Linked DNA regions of Homo sapiens: regions 2 and 3 are each linked to region 1. Evidence: promoter capture Hi-C in human tissues and cell types (Jung and others, 2019). All regions are on one chromosome and are shown on one strand. The core of a region is centred on a gene start or on the middle of the fragment in contact, and the rest is flanking DNA. Distances in the headings are between cores, read along the strand shown. Region 1 holds the start of MDM1 (Mdm1 nuclear protein). Region 2 has its middle 63 kb from the start of RAP1B. Region 3 has its middle 8.7 kb from the start of IFNG.

Region 1 (5,127 bases), core at 1,838-4,337:
GGAAAGACTGGGATGCTCTGTTTTGTTTGCTGTTCCTCCCCGCAGCACCTGAACAGTGATCTTCTACCCCACAGTGGCAGTTCATTGCAGTCTCCAGCTTGTCTCTTTTCCAGACGTTCCCAGAGAGTCTCATTTTGTCCCCTCAGAGGCACCCCACCAGTGGGGCAGTGGCCCTTTCTCAGCGGTCTGACCAACTCCAGGAGGCCTCTCCTACAAACCTCCGCATTCTAGTAACCTCAACATTTTCCTTTTGTTCTCTCAGCCTTACAGTATGAGCTGCTTCCTGGAGTTCCTCTTCTTTATCCTTTTGGCTTTAAGTTCTTCAATAGCTAATGAACCAATAGCTTATATTAAGTTCTCTTTGTTGAAATGCCTTGTGTAGGGTCTGTTTTCCTAGCTGGACCTAACATATCCATGCAGGATCAGAAGGCCCAAAGGAGCAGAACAACCTGCGCTACTCTTTGAATTTGGATGAACCGTAATGTATTTGACTAGTTCTCTCTAAATGGACATTTAGGTAGTTTTCAACCTTTTGTAACTAGAAACAGTACATTAAACAACTTTAAATGAATATTTTTTTTCACATATGTGTGAGTCTATCTGTAAGATAAATTTATAGAAGAGGAACTCCTGGATCAAATTGCCAAAATGCCCTTCATATAGGTTGTGCAAATTCAGTCTCTCACGAGCAATAGACAGAAATCTATTCCTATGAGAAATAGAGAAATCAACAAAGGGAAGAGTGAGCCAGGTGTGATACCACTGTCCCAGTAAGAGGGCCTTAGCTAGTGGAAGAGAGAAGCATAGCATGAGATCTGTCACTTGAGGAATTACTTTTTGGCTTAGACTCCACGGACTTCATTTTGAGCCCTTTGGCGATGAGAAAGGCTAAAACACAAATGAAAAGAAGGCTCTCTAAGACATAGTGTTACTCACTTCAAAGAGGGTAACGCAAAAAGGAGAGGTGCTTTGCCATAGATTACCACCAATGCCAGGCAGTTTGAGGAGTGGCTGTACCCAGTTGCTGTGCCCAGTGAAGACTCAGTACCAAGCTAAAGTGGCTGTGATAGCCAGCAGCAAGAGTGACACCTACAGATGCATGGCTATTGGAACAAGGGGCAGTGCTGCCCGGCATACGCTATGTGGTTGCTGCGAGCACATGTGAAATACCTCCTAGGGACTCCCCAAAACATGGGTGGAGCTTTGTAGGGTACTGGGTACTGTTTCCTGCAGTAGCAGAGAAGATAAGAGCTGGTAAAACACAGGCTACAAAACTCATTTACTAAGGTAGTCACTTTTTTTTTTCCCATTCCTATATCTTTGCCTCTTAAACTTGGGTAGGCTTTTGTTTAACAATAGCAAAGTAAAATCTTCTTCCTTAAGTCTTTATGATACTTCTCTAGCAAGCCTGGGATGTGACTGAGTTATTTTTACAATCTGCTGTTTGGTTTTCCTGTCATTTACTCCCTGCTCAGCAGAGCTCTTCTGCAGTGATCATTGCGCTTGTTTAGCAGGCAGGCTACATTCTACACACTTGCTTTTGCTGATCTCACCTTAGCATTTTGTGGTAACAAAGCTGTGTGCACAACCAAAGTTGTGCCTTTCTTACTCTGTAAGATGGGCTGCCTTCCTGCAGATGACTTTTGTTCTATGTTCCACTGTGTCTTGTTTGTGCCATTCTTAATTTACACGACAGAGATGCTGTCATCACCAATTAACATTAATCAAGGGCCCCCTGGATGCATGGCTGCATTGGGACTAATTTAATATGCTCTTTGTTCCAGATATCAGGTGGCTTCTTCAAATGATTTTTAAGTATCTCGATGATGATGAAGAACAAAGACATCAATCAGGATTCAGGAAGACAGCTTTTGCGGAAAATGCTTAAAGGGAAGCATCAAGGATTGGTGTTGATATTTGAAAGTTTAAGAGTGGTATACTTTTATTCAGTCAACACATGACAAATGTAAAAGGCACTCATTTGTTGTTCCTGGAAGAAGCCTGGCAGCATTCCATTCAGACATCTGCCCTTTCATCGTCCCACTTTTTACTTATTGCAGTCCTTTCAGTCTGAATATTTCCTCCTGACGCATCTTCTGCCGTCCGAAATGACTCCCTGCTCCCAGATCCTGTAGCCCTTATTATTGACACCTTTCATTTAGAAATTTAGCACATGTCACATTACACCATTATTGAATAAATAATGAATAAATAAATAAATAAAGATGTATGTCCTTCCCAAGTATATCAGAGAACTATCTGGACAATTTCTTTCTTTCCCAATTCTCAGAATCAGCAGTATTCTGTCAAGAAACATTTATCGACGATGATGGCAATAGTCGATTAAAATCAGATGAAGTTTTATTTTTAAAAAAAGGTTGAGCGGAGAGACAAGGCTGAAGGTTTGGAAGTTGAGACAACCATCTTCAATAAACGTTTTCTCATCTAAGGGCTGTATGTACATCATTTTGGGGAAGGTAGAGATTGAAGGAGGAAGAACATCACTGGAGGAAGAGACAGCAGTTTGTCTTTCGAGTTTCAATAAAGTTTCAAAAATCTTGCCTAAGTTATATATTTTTTTGGCCTTTCCCTTTTGATGTGACAATAAACTGTAATGCGGCTGTCGTTTGTACGAACCGATATTCAGCAGAATAAATCTGAGCACTTTCAGAAAAAGAAGCGTTCGGTTTTCTCATAGATGTTAGCATGAAGAACACACTTTGACCTTTGATGCTGTCAAGCACCTGGGCCAGCGAGGCTGGCGGCTGGCGAATTCCACCAGCAAGCAGACGCATTGCTGCGCAGGACCCGGCGAACCAGGGACCGGTCCACCCAACCCAGGAAGGCACCCCCGGGGTCCCGCCCAGCCCGGTTCCGGGAGCCTTATTGGCCGGCCTTCCGCCCGCCATCTCTATCAGCCCCAGGGATTTGGCAAGGGAGGTAGGCGGCTCCCTTTCGGCCACTCATTGGTCAAATCCTAATGGAGGTAAGGCACTCTGCGAGTCTCTATTGGTCCCTAGGCTCCAAAAAGGGCGGGGAAAAACAGACCGACAGGCCTCTAGGCGGGAAGCGCGGAGTGCGCCGGCGCGTAGTCGGGGACGCCGGGCCGAGGCTTTGCTAGGGAACACTGTTATCGCCCCGCCCCCTCGGAGCTTTTTCTCCAGTTAACTGTCGGAGTAGCGGGGGCTCCGGCGCCGGGCGACATGCCGGTGCGCTTCAAGGTGAGGCTGGGGTCCCCGGGCCGGAATGTGGCTGGGGGGAGCCATGGCCGGGGAGGTGTGGAGCGCCGAGGTCACGCTGCTTTTCTGCGCTGCAGCCCTCTGCCCGGCGGAAGCTGCCAGCCCCAGGGCCTGCTCGAGGGGCCCCAGAATCTGCCCGCCGCCTCTTAACCTAGTTCCCTCTCCGCTCACTCACATTTGCAAGCTGCAGTGTGTCGAAGAGTCAGATGGTGCGAGACACATTTACTTAGGGGGACTCAAGAGGAGTGGAGATGGGAGGAGGTCCCTTTGCGAAGAGAACTAAAGGCGACTTCAGATTGGGACACCTGTGGCCCATTTAGCTTAGCATTTAACCCCCATTACCTTTAAAACTTTAGTGTATGTGGCTTTTAAAGGCTTGAGAAATGGGTTCTTAGTAAAGACAGCGTATAAAGAAATACACGTTTTTCATCGTTGTGCATTCTTAGCGTATGTTAAAAGTTCCAGGTAGCTGGTAGCTGTCAGGGACTAGCACCCTGCAACTTCACAGGTGGCCACAGCGTCCCACATCTCCTGACTCATTTATCTTAAAGGCGTGTATTCAGAATGGAAGGGGAGTTTGCCTTTTGTTGACTTTATCAAATAGCAAAAGGTCCTAGGCATGGTACATAATATTGTGTACTCGGTGAAAACCTGCGATAAATCTAGAATGATGAGAATTTAGATTGTCATTAGTTATCCGACAAGAACTCATGCTTTGGAATCAGATAATCAGTGAAAGGGTAACCTCTGAGCCTGGAATTCCTGGTAGCATCTGCCTCAAGTGGTGTTGTGGATTAAAGGATATAACACGTGTGAACTGCTTAGCACAGGGCTGGGTGAATATTAGCTCTTATTAAGGAGCTCGTCTGTGTTTAATTTTCAGTCTTAAGTCTCTTTTGGGAGGTTCAGAAATTATTTTTCACCGATGTCTGCTTTAAAACATCATTCATTAATTGGACTGTACTCAAAAGTGTACTTTGCATTACAGGGGCTGAGTGAATACCAGAGGAACTTCCTGTGGAAAAAGTCTTATTTGTCCGAGTCTTGTAATTCCTCCGTGGGGCGAAAGTACCCATGGGCTGGACTTAGATCAGATCAATTAGGTAAGTTGAGCAGGCTAATAGCCATTCTAACCTGGGCTAAGTTTATAACTTGGGCCAAGCCGTTATAACTTGGGCTAAGTAAACCTTGGGCTAAGTTTACCAAATGATATATTAAAAGTTCAGTTGGCCTGGTTGATTTATTCATTTATTAATCAAGTATTTATTGAAGGTTTACTATGAGCCAGGACTATTCCCAGCAGCTAGTGTGGCAGGCCAGGTTTCACTAATGGAGGCCTCCATCACAACTGTTTCGGTACTGACTGAGCGGTTAAGTTAAATATTGAAAGCTAAAAAAAGCCAGTGCCCTTACACAAAGGCTGGGATGTCACAAAAGCCCATCAAGAGTATTGCCTAGGCCTTTCCTGGGCCATAAAGCATGACAAAATAAGGAATTCTTAACAGGATCCGTTTAGGATTAAACAAGTTTTACTGGGGGTCTGAAGAAACTCCCCAGGCCTCCACAAATTTATTGGCGGTCTGAAGGAACTCCTCAAACCTCCATGATTCAGCAGGAGACAAGATAAGGGTAATCAGCCCAGCACCTAGACCCATTTAGATTAAGTAAATTTACTGATGCTCCAGAAGAAGGTCTTCAGGACTCAGACCTTAGTTATAGATTAAAAGAAGTTAATCACTTATATCCTTAGATGAATGCACACTTACACGTAGACATATAGCTTAGAAGGTATATAAGCTCTGAAAAACTTTGTAATTTGGGGTTCGTCTGGTGATAATTTGCAGGCCTTCTTCCCGTAACTGGTTATAGAAATAAAAACTCTCTTTCT
Region 2 (5,127 bases), core at 1,480-3,979, 220 kb before region 1:
ATTCAGGAAGTGTCTGTGCTGGAGATACACACTTGGGATTTGTATATAGATAATATAGATAATATTTGAAGCCACAGGCCTAGATGAGACCACCAAGGAATAAGAATAGGTAGAGAAGGACAAACTGTGGTGCTCCAATGGTCAGAAGTGAGATGATAAGGAGGAATCAGCCAAGGAGACTGAGAAGAGTTATCCATGAGGGAGAAGGGATCTCTGGAAGCTGAGTGAAGAAAAGATTTCAAGGAGAAGAGAATAATCAACTGTGTTGAGTAACTGACATTTGAATTTTGCCATTGGACAGGGGGGAAGTTGATAAGCACAGTTTTTCACATTGTGTTGGTGAAGTGGTTACAGCCTGAATGGAGATTTTTCAAGACAGAAAAAAAGTAAGGAAGTACAGGCAGTGAGTTACAACAGTCCTTTAGTTTAGAAAAACTTTGCTGTCATGAGAAAGTAAAATAGGGAGGTAGCTTAAAGGGATGATGTGGTACAGGGAGGTTTGTTTTTAATGAGCTAGGTAGGGCAAATTTCATGATAATAGGAATAATGATGGATAACACAGGAGAGAGGGGACATTTGCTGAAGCAGTGTCATTAGTGTCCTTGAGAAGGTGAGAAAGCCTGGGACCCAGTGTCTGGTGAAGGGGCTAGCCATAGATAGGAGTATGGAAAGTTCCTCCATCATAGAAAGTGTGGGCAGAGTACATGGGGACATTGGAGAGAAGTTTGTTGATGTAGTCTTGGGACTCTTTGGAAATTCTTTTCTGATTGCCTCTATTTTCTCAGCAAAACAATAAGACTCTCAGCAGCTAGAAGGAGAGTAACAAAGGTGTTGGAAGTTTGAAGAGCAAGAATAAAGTAAAAAACAGACTTTTTTTTTTTTTAGATGGAATTTCACTCTGTTGCCCAGGTTGGAGTACAATGGTGTGCCAACTCACTGTGACCTCTGCCTCCCAGGTTCAAGTGATTCTCCTGCCTCAGCCTCCCAAATAGCTGGGATTACAGGCACCTGCCACCACACTTGTCTAATTTTTGTATTTTTGATAGAGACAGGGTCTCACCACATTGGCCAGGCTGGTCTCGAACTCTTGACCTCAGGTGATCTACCTGCCTCAGCCTCCCAAAGTGCTAGGATTACAGGCATGAACCACTGTGCCTGGCCTAAAATAGACAGAAGAGAATGTGATGATGAAGAAAATCTTCAAGAATTGCCATTTATATTATTTGTTATGGTATTCACAGCTTTTCAAAAAATTTCTCCTAGTTCTCTCAACTCATCTATTCTCCACTCCCAGTCATTCCCAATGCACATTTCTGTTTTAGCATCATGATAATGGATGCAATATAGCAGAACGCCTAGGGGCATCAGGCTGCAGTGAGCCATGATTGTGCCAATACACGCCAGCCTGGGTGACAGGGTCAGACTCTGTACTCAAAATAATAATAATAATAATAATAATAATAATAATAATAATAATAGTAATAAATAGAATGCTTAGGAGTGGGAACTTTGGTGGTGTCCAACTTTTGGAATTTGAATCTTGGTTTCACCACTGTCTTTCTTCTGGCTTTGGTTTCTTTATCTGCAAATGAAGAAATAAACAATCCTTACTTCTTGTGGTTGTCATAAAGATTATAGAAGATAATGCATATCAAGCATCTGACACATGGTAAACACTCAGGAAATATTAGTCAGGGTTAATTTTACTACTACCATCATCTCTATTCTGTGAGGATGTGTGTCTTAAGGGAAAGGACTATTTTACTCAGCCTGTGATCCTCATGATACCTTGTATAGAGTTGGTATTTAACAACTATCTAGTGGAATGCAATCCACATTTAAACAATACTCAGTGCATTGCAATTGGCCCTCAGGTTTTCTGAAAATCTGACTATTATAATCAGCATGTTCTCTTTGAAGGTATTGTCGGTTGTCAAGTTGAGTGTTTGAATGCCCCACTGCCCTAAAAAGAAATTCATGATGATATTTCTCAAAAAACATATTCTACACATGCAAATGTTGCCTTATTTTTTGAACATCCACTTCTTAGATTGGATCCTACTGTGCTGTGGTCTTCCCTGGGAGCCTGATTTTTATGAAGCTGGTAGGGGGCTGGGTGCATAAAGAGATTCACAGCTGAGGAAATCAGACAACTGAAGCTCTGAACAGCCTCAGTGAGAAAACAGCATTCCTGTTTCCTCTGTGCCACAGTCTTGTCACCTGCTTTTCCATACAGTGGTGAAACAGAGGTAGAAAATTGATTTGGCAAGTCACTTCTATTATAATCTTAGTGTAGCAGGACGAGCCTCAGACAAAACCCCTCAGACACCGAGTTAAAGAAGGAAGGGCTTTATTCGGCCAGGAGCATCAGCAAGACTCATGTCTCAAAAACCGAGCTTCCCAAGTAAGCAATTCCTGTCCCTTTTAAGGACTCACAACTCTAAGGGGGTCTGCATGAGAGGGTCGTGATTGATTGAGCAAGCAGGGGGTATGTGACTGGGGGCTGCAAGCACCGGTAATTAGAACAGAACAGAACAGAACAGGACAGGGATTTTCACAGTGCTTTTCTATACAATGTCTGTAATCTATAGATAACACAACCGATTAGGTCAGGGGTCAATCTTTAACTACCAGGCCCAGGGTGTGGCGCTGGGCTGTCTGCCTTTGGATATCAGTTCTGCCTTTTAGTTTTTACTTCTTCTTTCTTTGGAGGCAGAAATTGGTCATAAGACAATATGAGGGGTGGTCTCCTCCTTTATTCCCCCTTTTGAGAACTTCACTCATTAGTGGGAGTTCTCACTTTCATTCTAACTACCCATGTCTTCTTGCAAGACAGATCAATAGTGATTCATATAGTACACTTGTGCTGAAGCATTTTGATGAACTAAGGTAGCGATGAAGCTTTTTATCATTTGAAGAAGTAGAGGTAGCAAACAAGGGAGCAGTAAGCAGGTTTCTATTACTATTACAACTCCTATTTGAAGAGTTTTAAATCTTCTTAGTGCTGGGAACCATTTTCTAAACATGGCCCCAGGATCAAATCCATGCCACACTTGCACGGGCACATGTGCTAGTTTTGTCATATTTCTAACTATGTCTTCAACTACTTGCCCTTGATCATCTACGTGTAGACAGCAATTAGTAAGGTTAAATTTCCTACAGATCCCTCCTTCAGCTGCTAGCAAGTAGTCGAGAGCCAATCTATTTTCATAGATAGCATTTCTCATATGAGTTTCTTGCTGGGCCAGAATAGTCAAGGCTCTGCCAGTCTTATTAGTGACTATTTTTAAGACAGCTTGTAACCATATGATTTGGTTGAGCATGTAAATGGGGGTCTGGTATCCCCATGAGTCATCTTGTGCCCAAGTGCCAGGCACATAATATTGTATGATTCTCTCAGGGGGCTGTTCATCTTCTTTTTAATTTTCTATAGCTATGCTTCTCTTTTTGCAGAAAGCATAGACAGGGAAGCCCAGGAGTTCACCTGTCTTTATGGGCAGTAGGAAGAAAGATAGTTTAATAGTGCCAATAACACAACTACCTGCCCACTGGTCGGGTAATTTGGTGTAAGCTCTATGCCCACATATTCAGTATAATCAAGTGGGGGCTGTCCAGTCCCAGTGGGACTCCAGGTGGGTCCACACGGTTTGCAACTTTGGGAATTTACTAAATGGATTTTTCTTAGTGTGGTTTGAACTCCACTAGGTGGCTGTTTTTGTAGTACTATTATACAGTTTTTGCCCAAGGCAGCTGAGTCTTCCCACAGGAAGGGTGAAGTCCTTCCCCACTCTTGCTATACAGTATTGTCTAATGACTGAGGCTTTTAGGACCCAGAAGTTATCAGGGTGATTCTTTTGAGCTGGGAATTCATCAGGAACTGGGTCTGTAGGTACTAATTCTCAGGCTTCCCATGGCCATTGATCTCCCATTACAGTTCCTCCACATACATAACATGAAGTGACATTGAGAGACTGGGCTACATGCTTGGTTAATTGCAAAAACAAATTTCTTGTTTTTCCTGGAATTTCTGGTACTGGCACATTTAGTTCATCATAGAAGGTTTGAAATACTGGCTCAGGAGAGCGTTTATAAACTTCTCCTCAAACCACGATATTTACTTGAGGATCCAGTCCAGCCCCATCGATTCCTAGGGTTACATGCTCCCCTTATTTCCAGCGAGGATCAAGGGAGTTGGTTATTACTAGTTCTAAGGGGTTACACAGACCACTGGTACACGAAGGGTCACTTTTCCCTTTCTGAAGATGGACAGGATTCCTTTCATTTTTTTATCCAAGTAGCCTAAATGACACAAGACCAGTATCCACATTCATTTCCACACAGTCTTAATTCATGACAAATGTACTTATTTTCTGTCATATAGCCTCTTTCCTAATTAAGAGAACCACATCCTATTCCTAACTTATTACTATTAATGACAGCACAGGCATCAAATTTCAAGGTGACTTGTTTGGGCACTCCTTTTTCTTCTGTTTTGGCTAACACTTTACTCATATCATTTATGAGCCCTCACTAGTCCTCAGTCCTTAATCTTATTTTAAAAACTATGGTCATGGGAGGCTCAGATGGGTCATAACACACATCAGCTTGGGGGCTACATACCTTGTATAGAATAGCATTATACAAACAAGTTCTTTTTAGAGTCCCAGTACACTTATGATAACCATAAAATAATAGGACTGTAGCAACTTTTTGTCCTACCTCAGTGACTTGATGTATACACTGGGAATAGTAATCAGTCTGAGGAAGGTCAGTTGAAGTCCTTACTGTACGAGTCCAAATTTTAAGGAAAATGAGTCCCACAATGAGTTTTCTCATGCTTCGGGCACATGTGGACCAGTCAGCTTCCAGGTGTGACTGGAGTAGGGCTTCTCATCTTCTTCAGAGTCACTTTGCAGGGGTTGGTGAAGCTGCTCCCATCCACGTACAGCTCACAGCCTACTGATGTTCAAGGATGGTCTCAGAGTTTGGGCCCACTAGAATAAACTGAGTCCAATACCTTTACACACTTACGTTCAACTGGGCTCTCTGATACTGGGAGCAAGGTGGTGGGGTTTAGGTTGTTGCAAACTTCAATGGTTATGTGGGGATTTTTACATAGCAAGCTTT
Region 3 (5,127 bases), core at 919-3,418, 180 kb after region 1:
TTCTTATGATTACCGACATAAACAAGATAATGGATATAGTGAGATTAGTTCTACCAGCTGTGGAACGTGTAGTGGTGGCAAGATCATGAATGTCAAGGATAGAGAGGGTTAGACATCTGGGGCTTCCTTCTCAACAATTTCACATAAACCTCCAACAGCAACAGTAGGATTATGTGAAATAGATCACACAAAGGATCATTTGAGTCATTGACAATAATCAGGGGTCATTATTTTGATTATTGGGTAACTAAGTGACAGTGGGTGAGATCTGATGCTAAAACTTTTGAATCTTTGATGAAGCAAGATTGGAAGTAAATTTGGTTAATTTTGGCACAACTACAGCTAATATGATCTGCTACTGGTGTCTCCACTCTTGTTTGAATTAAGATTCATTGATGCAGACTTTGATGTATAAACAGATGAAGGGCTACTGTGAAGCTGTCTTGCCTGGACCACAGTTCTAGACCATACTTCTGGGGAAGGGATTGGAAATTCCCACCATCGATCATCTTGAGCAGTGATTAATCATACCATGTGTAATGAAGCCCCAGGAGATAAATTTTAATCTAGGGCTGGATAAAACATTCCCTCTCTCTGAGGTTGATCTCAGTTTGGCCAGACTGTGAGACATGAAGAGATATAAACTGTATTAGGTGCTGTGATTATAGCAGGGAATGAGACAGGGAGAAGATCCTTTAAGAGAACTTGAGTTGAGACTGGCCTATGCAGTGGTTGTCAATTATTCTCTATGTTGTATGTTTCTTCTCTTATGAACACACCTAGTTTCAGAAGTGTGATGGAGCTTGTAGGAGGGATGGACCATGCTTTAGACTAAGACACCTTGGGGGCTGATTCCTCTCCCAATGCCAGCAGGGGCAGGTATCTCCCAAATCTTATAAGCAGCTGGGACAGCAGCCTGGGCTTGCAGTGGGAGAGCCCTTATCGTATAGCTTTCACCCTTAGTGACTTTCAGAAATTGCTGGCATATGCTTGCTGGTGGGGCAATTTTTGGTGATTAAAACTTGAGCATGAAATGTCAATGGATTTTCCTGTTCTTTCTTATCCTGTTCTCTTCATTCTTCTCTCCTTCCCATTTGAACAATATTATTCTAAATCAATTAAGTGCATCAGAGTAAGGTAGACATCTGTAATTGCCCACTATGGGCAGCCAAATTCCAGGCACAGTGTGTAGGGAGGAAACCTGGTGTGGAAGGTGTCAGAACCTGAGCAGAATGAGGAGAAGGTCCTTGAAGAGGTGGGTGAGCATATTAGTTTCCTATTGCTTTGGTAATAAGTGACAACAAACTTAGTTGCTGAAAAAAAAAACCCACGTTTATTATCTTATCATCATGGAGGGCAGAAATCCAAAACTAGGCTCAGTGGGCTAAAATCAAGGCATCGGCAGGGCTTGTTCCTTCTGGAGACTTTAGGAGACAATCTGTTTCCTTGACTTTTCCAACTGCTAGAGGCCACTCTCATTCCTCAGCTAGTGGCCTCTTCCTTTTTAAAAGCCAGCAGAAGAGTATCTTCCAGGCTCTCTCATTCTTTCTGACTCTGATACTCCCGATTTCCTCTTATAAGGACCCTCGTGATTACATTAAGACCTCTTGAATAATTCAGGATACTGTCTCCTCCTTCTTAAGATTTTTAACTGAGAAGTTTTTTTTTTTTTTTTTGTTTGTTTGTTTTTTTTTGCCATATAAAGCAACAGTCCCAGATTCAGGGGACTAGGATGTGGACATCTTTGGGGGTCCATTATGCAGTCTATCACAGTGCGGCAGCCTGACATGGGTCCTCTGAACCTTAGCCTAGCAAGGAGGTGCCCATGTGGAAGAATGGCCTGGAGTAGGGTGTCAGAGTCCAGGCAAGGTGAGGAGGACATCTGTGTCCTGGGATGGCCCAGCATGAGTGTTAGAGTGAAGTAAGAATGGCATCTGCATAGGGGAAGACATATTAGTGCAGATGGGAAATTAATTAAGTAATTATATTAAAGATAATGGGAGCCAGTTTTCCTCACTATTGAAGGAAGGTACAGTACAGAAAAGGAGAAAATTAGAATAAACCCTATGATATTGAAATAGAATTAGATGTATCAGTATTAACTTATGCTCTTCAATATATAGAGGTAGATATAGAAATAAATAATAGATAGAAATATTAGTTCACCCTAACTCTGTCCATTGAGGGGGCCTGGGAGTAGTAACATCTCGATAACAATGAGAACACTGATCACCCATATCTTGACTTCTAAATACCATTCTTTGCTAGAATGAACCAGAACTCCTTGGAGAATTGGCTGATCCCAGAACAGGGGTAGTGAAAGTACATGAAGTGCTAGAAAAAAAAGAAGTATTCAGAGGATGATGGAAACATGTTAAAAGGAACAGAAACCAGCTTGAAGGGACTCCCACTAGTGAAATATGAGAAAATTTGAGCATCAAAATAAATAGTGATAGTAATGTATTATGACCTATTGAATATAATAGGAAACCATGAGTATATATTGATATAAATGAATACACCAAAAGTTTGATGAGGAATGGTATAGCCACATCATTGCAAAATATCTCCCTACAAAATATTTATTAATTACAAATTGGAAAGGAGTAATTTTATGGTAGAGAAGCTTAGCAGATACCATCTTAATCAAGGAATAAAAGTGAACATCCTTAGTAATGAGATAAATGAAAAGGGTATCCTACCTGATAGGTTGCAAGAAAACGAACATAGCACACCTTTTGTGATATCTCTGTGAAAGATGCATAACCTATTCTAGTCATGAGAAAACATACAAATGCAAACTAAGAAGCATTCTACAAAATATCTTGTCTGTAGTCTTCAAAGTATCAAAGTTGTATAAGTTAAGGAAAGACTAAGGACTGAAGAACAGTTTTGTTCTGAAATGAATTATAGAGACATGATGGCTAAATGCAATGCAAGTTTCTAAACTGAATCCTTGTGCAGTAGAAATCATTTTTAGAACAACTGGTGAACTTGAATGAGGTCTGAAGATGAGAGAGTAGTAATATATCAATTTAAACTTCCTGATTTTGAGGTTTGTATCATGGTTAAGCAGGACATGTCTTTGTGGGTAGGTAGTGCACATGAATGTATTCAGAGGTGAAGGGGCATCAGGATAGCCACTTACTCTGAGATGATTCAGGAAATATAAAGCTTTTCCAACTCTTCTGTAAGTTTGCAATCTTGTTCTTTCTTTTAAGACAGGATTTGACTCTGTCACCCAGGCTAGAGTGCAGTTCGTGCAATCACGGCTCACTGCAACCTCCGCCTCCTGGGCTCAAGCCATCCTCCCACCTCAGCCTCCCGAGTAGCTGGGACCACAGGCATGGGCCACCATGCCCAGCTAATTTTTTATTTTTGTACTTTTTGTAGAGATGTGGTTTCACCATCTTGCCCAGGCTGGTCTTGAACTCCTGGACTTCAGTGATTCACCCACCTTGGCCTCCCAAAGTGCTGGGATTTGAAGGCGCCCAGCCTGCAATATTTTTTCAAAATATAAATACGAAAAAGTCACTCTGAGATTATTTCAGAGTCACAGACTGGTGAGGTCTAAAATTCTTGATGACTCAGAATTCCCCATATTTAACTTGCAACAGGTGAAATTTCCAAAAGTAATCACACATATATATTCACCCCATCCCCATGCTCTTCTTGTAATGTGACTGACACTCCCCCAACTTAAAGATGAGGGTATGGTCCTCCCCTAAATACTGGGCGGGGGCTTGTGACTTTGCTTACCAGTGAAGTGAAATGGAAATGAAGTCACATCCTTTGAAGTCTAGGGTGCAGTCTCTACCTGGCTTCTCTCCATCTCAAGACTTTTGCCCTCAGAACCCAACATCATGTTGAGATGTTCAGGCTGCATGGGGAAACCATGTGTGCATATTCTGGCCAAGAGTTCCAGTAAGGCTTCCACTCAGCATCAGCACAAATCATCAGATGTGTGTGAGCAAGCTCTTAGATGATTGTAGCTCCAAGCATTTGAATTTTCCAACTGAGGCCTCAATGAAAAAAACCATCATGGGCTGGGTGTGGTGGCTTACACCTGTAATCCCAGCACTGTGGGAGGCCGAGGCGGGCGGATCACCTGAGGTGAAGAGATTGAGACCATTCTGACCAACATGGTAAAACCTCATCTCTACTAAAAATACAAAAATTAGCTGGACATGGTGGCACATGCCTGTAGTTCCAGCTACTCAGGAGGCTGAGGCAGGAGAATCGCTTGAACCCGGGAGGTGGAGGTTGTGGTGAGCTGAGATCATGCCACTGCACGCTAGCCTGGATGACAGAGTGAGACTCTATCTCAGGAAAAAAAAAAAAAAAGAAAAAAAAGAAAAAAAACCATCGTGACAGACTTCCAATTTTAGCTCCAACATATACAGAGCATGGAAGTTGTTACTCCAGCCTTTAAAACAAGGAAAAGCTGGACAAATAAAACCAGCGAGTTTTTTAGTTCCATCATAGAACGGAATTTGCAGGACAAACTGCCACAATAAAATCTGGAGAGTAGGCAAATCCAGAAATTCACAGCCAAGATCTGCTTACTTGGACCTGAATCCACTGGAGTAATTAACTTGTTAAAACACTTAAATGGTAATTTTGATGACTTGCTGGAGGCTGAGTGTGGACTAGCATGGGAGTGAGAAACACCTGGGGGCCGAACTGTGATGGGTCCTCCTTGTTTTCGTGAGCATACCTACAGGAATCCCACCAAGTTCTCCTGGTGAAGTTCTGACAAAGATACCCCTGTGGCTCTGGCAGGGGGAGGGGACGAGTAACCTTCTGAAGTATGTCCAGAAACAAAGGTCTGCTCTCCAGGGGAAAGGCTTTACCAGACTCCTGTGAGAGGGCTGTGGGGGAAGGATGTTTCTCTAACTTGAGTCCCTTCTAGTTGTCCTGTTACACCTAAAGCTATACAAGAAGAAACACTTGTGAAGATCACAGTCCTGAGACACAGGCCCACTAAAATGCTGAGATTTAAAGATTATAAAACACTTCCCTTTCCCCATACTTTACTACATACCACAGGGCTCCAGTAATAACAGTGGATCACAGGTGAAAGAGCTGCAAGGCACAGACTCTGTCTAAGTAGGAGTAGTTACGGAA

The links. The method cuts DNA at HindIII sites, captures the fragments that hold promoters and counts their contacts. A contact is called where the count stands out against the background at its distance.
Region 2: a contact is called between a fragment that was not itself captured here and the fragment with the promoter of MDM1 in region 1, in 5 of the 25 tissues and cell types used here (H1 embryonic stem cells, adrenal gland, mesenchymal stem cells and 2 more).
Region 3: a fragment that was not itself captured here is called in contact with the fragment with the promoter of MDM1 in region 1 in 1 of the 25 tissues and cell types used here (neural progenitor cells).

The regions. Positions count from the first base shown.
Region 1 is chr12:68,330,322-68,335,448 of GRCh38, reverse strand. MDM1 (Mdm1 nuclear protein) reads left to right here and starts at 3,087. Exons shown (of 15, transcript NM_001354969.2): 1 at 3,087-3,221; 2 at 4,228-4,342. The coding sequence starts at 3,204. It overlaps LOC105369819 (a long non-coding RNA gene), which reads right to left and starts at 2,818. Exons shown (of 3, transcript XR_945057.3): 1 at 1-2,818. RefSeq lists a silencer at 2,887-3,146 and an enhancer at 3,447-3,536. The HindIII fragment of the contact is 12,003 bases long and covers 1-5,127 here.
Region 2 is chr12:68,545,143-68,550,269 of GRCh38, reverse strand. No RefSeq gene overlaps it. Among named protein-coding and RNA genes, the nearest start is that of RAP1B, 63 kb to the left of the region's middle. The HindIII fragment of the contact is 5,997 bases long and covers 1-5,127 here.
Region 3 is chr12:68,148,434-68,153,560 of GRCh38, reverse strand. No RefSeq gene overlaps it. Among named protein-coding and RNA genes, the nearest start is that of IFNG, 8.7 kb to the left of the region's middle. The HindIII fragment of the contact is 7,218 bases long and covers 1-5,127 here.